Linked DNA regions of Homo sapiens: region 2 is linked to region 1. The links are contacts of gene promoters, found by promoter capture Hi-C in human tissues and cell types (Jung and others, 2019). All regions are on one chromosome and are shown on one strand. Each heading gives the region's core, a stretch centred on a gene start or on the middle of the fragment in contact. The rest is flanking DNA. Distances are from core to core; before and after follow the strand shown.

What was found. The method cuts DNA at HindIII sites, captures the fragments that hold promoters and counts their contacts. A contact is called where the count stands out against the background at its distance.
Region 2: a contact is called between a fragment that was not itself captured here and the fragment with the promoter of SPO11 in region 1, in 3 of the 25 tissues and cell types used here (heart right ventricle, mesendoderm cells and thymus).

The regions. Positions count from the first base shown.
Region 1 is chr20:57,328,303-57,331,432 of GRCh38, forward strand. It overlaps SPO11 (SPO11 initiator of meiotic double strand breaks), which reads left to right and starts at 1,501. Exons shown (of 13, transcript NM_012444.3): 1 at 1,501-1,696. The coding sequence starts at 1,566. LOC105372687 (a long non-coding RNA gene) reads right to left here and starts at 1,362. Exons shown (of 12, transcript XR_007067670.1): 1 at 1,119-1,362. It also overlaps the pseudogene RPL39P39. The HindIII fragment of the contact is 7,446 bases long and covers 1-3,130 here.
Region 2 is chr20:57,065,102-57,068,111 of GRCh38, forward strand. No RefSeq gene overlaps it. Among named protein-coding and RNA genes, the nearest start is that of BMP7-AS1, 150 kb to the right of the region's middle. RefSeq lists an enhancer at 1-495. The HindIII fragment of the contact is 5,357 bases long and covers 1-3,010 here.

The sequences.
Region 1 (3,130 bases), core at 251-2,750:
CTCCTCCTTCCCAAAGTCAGGACTCCTTTCCTTGGGCTTCAGAATTCCTATCTTCTGCTCTAGAAGGCTTGGAGCAAGTGGGGGAAAGGCACCACTCACCAAGTCTGTCAGGGGATGACATGGTATAGAGGGAGAGGAGCTACATAAAATACAAGATGCCAGTTAAGTTTGAATTTCACATAAACAATGAAATAACATTCCTTTCTCTGCCATCGTGGTGTGTGCTTGACTCCACTTCTCGCCATGTCTTTCCCACAAGACTTTTGGGATTAAGCAATTCCTGGCCAAGAAACAAAAGCAAAATCGTCCCCAGTGGATTCGGATGAAAACTGATAATAAAATCAGGTACAACTCCAAAAGGAGACATTGAAGAAGAACCGAGCTGGGCCTATAAGGAATTGCACATGAGAGGGCACACATATTTATGCTGTCTGAAGGTCACAGTCATGTTACCACATCAAGCTGAAAATGTCACCGCTCTCTGGAGAGTTGTACATGTTTTATTGAGAATATATTTTTTCTCTCTGAATCTGTGATGAATGCGTTGGTTGGCTGGGTTCAGTAATAAATATGTGAGACCTTTCACTTAAAAAAAAAAAGAACTATTTTTTTTTTTTTGAGAAGGGATCGCCCTGTGTTGCCCAGCCTGGAGTACAGTGGCTATTCACAGGCACAATCCTAGCGCACAGCAGCCTTCAACTCCTGGAGCCTCTAAATCCATCCTCCTGCCTCAGCCTCCCTAGTAGCTGGGACTACGGGTGAGTACCACTGTGCAAGGCTACAAAATAACTTTTTAGTAAAAGTATATCCCAAACTTTATACGAGACGTAGTTACTCTAAAAAAAAAAAAGGATTTGCTGTTTATCTGAAATTCTAATTTAACTGGTTGTCCTGGATTTTCTTTGCCAAATTGGTCTGCCCTACGGAGTGCGAGGGCTGGGATTTTAACCCAGGCCTGCCTGCTCTGAGCTGACCTTTCCTGGCACCTGCAAAATTAGGATGACACGTTAGGAACTTCCTGGGGTTCTTAAGGGAATTAGAAGAGGGACCTGAGTGCAAAGGGCTTTGGAGGCATTCAACTGCTATGAAACGTTAGTAAGGACAGGGATTGCGTTCACCTCAATCACAGCTGAACCCATTGCCGAGAACTGTTATCCCACACAGCTGGATCTTCATCATTATGTGTTTTAATGAAAAATCGCTGATATTGCTGTCCCTAAATAGCCAACCCCCAAAATAATTAAATCACCTCAAGGGACTCTAGGTCCAATATCCGCAGCACGCCACACAAACATCTCTCAGCTCAGCCACGCAGGGCCGATGCCTGCGCGACCCACACTCAGGGAGGCGCCCGCCTCAGGGCCTCACAGGTGGGACCGCGCCTGAGAGCCCTGCGCTTGCGCACTCCACGCCGTGCTCTACGCATACGCCTGTCCAGCCCCGCCTCTGGGTGTGTGGCGTGGGCACGCCGGCCGCTCAGAAAGCGCGGGAAAGGCACGCAGCCACGCCCCAAGGGCGCAGCCTAGGACAGGGGCTTCTGGAGCTTCTGGCAGCCGTCTGCCCTCATGGCCTTTGCACCTATGGGGCCCGAGGCCTCGTTCTTCGACGTTTTGGACCGACACAGGGAGTCCCTGCTGGCTGCCCTGAGGAGAGGTGGCAGGGAGCCCCCAACTGGGGGAAGCCGCCTGGCCTCCAGGTACAGGAGCTGGTGCCGAGGCGCGACGCAGCCACTCTGTAGAAAAGTCGGGCGCTCTTCCTGGCCCCGGGCTGCCTCCTAGTGTTGAGGCTGAGGAGGCACCCCTTGGCGGGCCAGCCAGGAACCCCCAAAAAGATCCTTCCTGAGTACCCGTGACCTGCTTTGAACCCTTATTTTGAACTCAAAAAAGAAAGCCAGGTGGCAGCCCCCCTTCTGTGGCTTCTAGGATGTTCCCCTTCTAGAACGTTCCAGAGGCTCCCTGCAGCTGGGTTGGAAGGTTTCCTAAGATCCTTATAGGTTGGGGAGTTTGGGGTACAGTTAGCTTTGTATTTTTTAAACGTTTTTTGGGATAAAATTTTTGGTTAAACTTTAAGGGTTTTTTTTGGTTTTTATTTTTTGGTTTTTTTTTAGAAAGAAAATGAGTGTTGTATGTCTTCTCTCAGTAAGCGAATGGTTTTCTCAGAATTAACAAGGACATCAACACATTTTAAGTGGTTTATAATAAGACAACATGTTTAATTGTTTTGCAAGTGGAGAGAATGTACATATTTTAAATGATTTATTTAAAATCAATTACAGGAACCCTCCAGCTATCCATGTTAGAATTAACCACAGAAAACATGACTACGTTATTGACCATTTTCACTTAAAAATACTTTATTTTGTTTCCTCGACTTGCTTTCTTGGTTGAGCAAAGTTTTTCAGCCTTTTATTTTTAAGCCCAAACCAACCACCAAAAAATCTGAAAAACCTACAAACAAACCAATTTTTACAAAAGAATTTATTTTGAGGGAGAACTTGGGAGAGTGAGGGAAAAGGAGAGTGGCAAGTCCCTTGTTAATATCGCAGATGTAGACGAATCTGATTGTATCTTAAAGTTGGTTACAGTATTATCCTGCAACACTTTTTTTCTCCAAACTAGGAAAAATGAGTATTTGGGTCAGTTTTTACCTCCCAATATTAGAATAGATTAAATGTTTTAAAATTCATTTTCTGAAACACAAGTTTTCAGTAAAAATTCTGAAGTTCCTGTGGAAATTAAAACTCTCAACATTTTGCCCGTTTTCTAGAGTGCATTTGATTTCTCTTCCTAGACAATAAGCTCATGGTGTTTATAACAGAACAACATTTTTTGCAGCTGATGGCTTGTGAAATTAACAGTCAGCTGACAGAAAACTGGGCTTAGTCTTCGCATTTTGCTGTAGAGTGGCGTAATAGCTGCCAAGTCAACCGTTTGTTGCAGAACTCACAATTTATTCTTTCCAGGGTAGTGATTAAACGTTTTCCTTTTTGTATCGCTAAATTTCAAAAGAGCCGATTTTAAGGCATGAGATCAACTAGGGTAATGTGCGACCACAAAAGGTGTTTCTTTTGAAATTTTTGCATTGCATTTTTGGGAAAGAAATTCAAAGCCAATATTGTATCACTTTTTAA
Region 2 (3,010 bases), core at 321-2,820, 260 kb before region 1:
AGCCAGCCACTGTGCCACAGGAGCCATGAGGCTAGGTTTTGCCACGGGAGATACCGAACACAAGGGAAGAGGCTACAGGATGATGAGTGAATAGCTGGATTAGAGCTTCCTAGCATCTCAGCCTCACACTCTGACAACATCAAAGAAACATCTTTCTTGACACTTCTCCTCTTCCTGTTTCATTCACATTGAGAGAAAATTCTCTATGGTGTCTCCCATTTCTGCACATCTTGTGAGCAGAGGCACTGACAGCTTTTCTTCTATACTGTCTTTACAAGAAAACAACTTAGTAGACAGAAAAGTGTCTCCCTCTGGGGCAGCAGCCAGATTTGTTTGCCGTTGTTTACAAAGTTGATGTCTCCCTCCAGGGCAAAGGCTGATCATGTTTGCTTGCCCATCATCAATGATTTGGATTTTCTAAGCTCAAGATTCCTCAGCTGTGGAATCGCCACATCCAGCTGAGGACAGCCCTCAGCCTCAGCGGCTCTCAGACTCCCCAGGGACCCTGGCTCCCACCATGCCCCAGATGGCCCCTGGGCTGTTGAGTGACCATGGAGGGCCACCCCTTTGTATCAGGGGTTTGGATTTAATTAAAGTCTTAGAAAATATTATCTGTCACTGAGCAGCCCAGAAGGGTAGCCCTGCTCAGAACTGAGAAGCTTCTTCATGTGGCTCTCGAAGCTGTCAAACAGGCCCTCTGCAAACTGAGACTGAGGCCGTGTCAAATGCTTGTGGTTTACCTCGGGCTTTGTTATGTCCCAGAGTCTGGAATCCTGGTAATTACAGAAAAACGTCGGGTGGGGGGTGAAGGGAAGGCGTCAGAAAGTTATCTGTCTCAACAAAAGGAAGAGAGGAGAGGGAAAGAAAGGGAGAGAGAGACAGACAGAGAGAAGAGAGAGAAAGAGACAGAGAGAGAGACAGGGGGACCAAGGCTGCACGCTGTGAGCAAAGATTCTCAAAGGAAAATCAGAGCAGTCCTGTCGGAAGGGAGGATGGAGCTGGCCTGGCTAATGAACAAACAGAGCGAAACAGTCCCACAAAACAGATAGCTACTACACCATGCTTTCCAATGTTGAGAGCGCCGATGAAGATCATCACGTTCAAAAAGCAGGTCACCAAGCAGAATGTAAGCATGTATTTCATTTTTCAAAAAAGAAACACCCATTCTATACCAGTCTATCAACTGTGATGCTCTGCGGATGAGTCACAGTAGAGGTTTTAAAACAATTTTCTGTTGGTCTGCCTGCATCTGCTAATTTTCCTACAATGGGCATATTCTAGCAGTTCCCATGTCATGAACCCACCAAAGGAATAAATAAAAGACAGAAAACTGAGCAGACACGCAGATCCTCCCAAACCCTTTCTCCTTGTTAAGTTCTGTCTGCACAACAAAGACCAGTGGAGAAATGAAAAGCTGCAGTCAGTTTTCTGACTTTGCTGGCTGGGAGAAGCGATCTGGACTCATCTTTTCCAGGTGTTTGGGAACATGGCTCTGTCCCTGGGTGAGGAAACCTCAATTTCAGGCTGCTGATCACAAGTGCACCTTCCGTGACAATCTCCTTAGGGCTGCACTTTCAGGGAAGGAATAACATCAGGGCTGCAGCCCACACGGGTCGTACCCTTGGCAGAACCTCCTGGAGGCCCTGCCGGGGTTCCTGGGGTCCCAGGGATGGAGACATCCCTTTGTTTCCTGTTTAGGGTGGTTCTGATTACAGATGAGGCCAAACTGGAATAAATCACAACCAGACCTCCTCTAGCCAGTGGCTCAGGGCTCTGTTGATTACAGTATCATTAGCAGGAAGGAAGAGTTAACAGGGAAGACACAAGCTGATGTGGCTTGGATGTTGTCCCCTCTAAATCTCATGTTGAATTGTGATCCCTAGTGTTGGAGGTAGGGTCCAGTGGGAGGTTTTTTGGTCCTGGGGGCGATCCTTCCTAGCAGATGCTGCCCTCATGGTAGTGAGTGAGTTCTCACAAGATCTGGTTGTTTAAAAGTGTGTGACACCTCCCCCCACTTCTCTCTTGCTCCTGCTCTGACCTGTGATACACAGGCTGTCCCTTCACCTTCTGCCAGGACTGTAAGCAGCTCAAGGCCTCCCCAGAGGCCAAGGAGATGCTGGCATCACACTTCCTGTACAGCCTACAGAACTGTGAGCCAGTTAAACCTCTTTTCTTTGTAAATTACCCAGCCTCAGGGATTCCTTTATAGCAACACAAGAAAGCCCTCATAACAGCCTTGGGCTTCAGTAAGGGCTCCAAAGACAGGCAGATGTGAATTCCACCCCAGGAAAAAAGTCCTCCTGGCTGGGGGACCTAGGACAAGTGTCTTCACCTCTGAGACTCAGTTTCCACCCCTGGAAGACGGGGATGGTAAGTGTATTAGTCAGAGTTCTCCAGAGAAACAGAGCAATAGAAGATATATATATATATGTATATATATATATGTATGAAGAGGAATTGGCTTACATAGATACGGGGGCTGAGAAGCCCTGCTATCTGCCATCTGCAAGCTGGAGACCCAGGAGGATCTGGGATAATTCAGCCCAAGTCTGAAGGCCTGAGAACCTGGGGAGCTGATGTTGCAAATCCTAGTCCAAGGGCGAGAGAGGATGAGCTGAGATGTCCCAGCTCCATTTGGTAGACAGGAAGCAAAAGGGTGAAGCCCTCTTCTCTCTGCCTTTTGTTCTATACAGGCCCTTAAACAATTTGGACAAGGCCCACCCACATTGGGGAGGGCCATCTGCTTTGCTAAGTGAACCAATTCAAATGTTAATCCCATTTGGAAACCCTCTTACCAACACACCAAGAATCATGTTTAATCTGGGCATTAATTGTGGCCCAATCAAGTTGACACGTAAAATTACTGTGGTGGAAGGAAGTCTCCCTCATTGGCAGGATGAGGGGAGATGAGTGTGGGAGTGGCACACAAGTTCTTCACCTGTGGCAGCCTTTCTCATGTGACAGAGTAAAGATGAGGCATTTACCAACAACCCCTCCTTTGCTGGCCAAA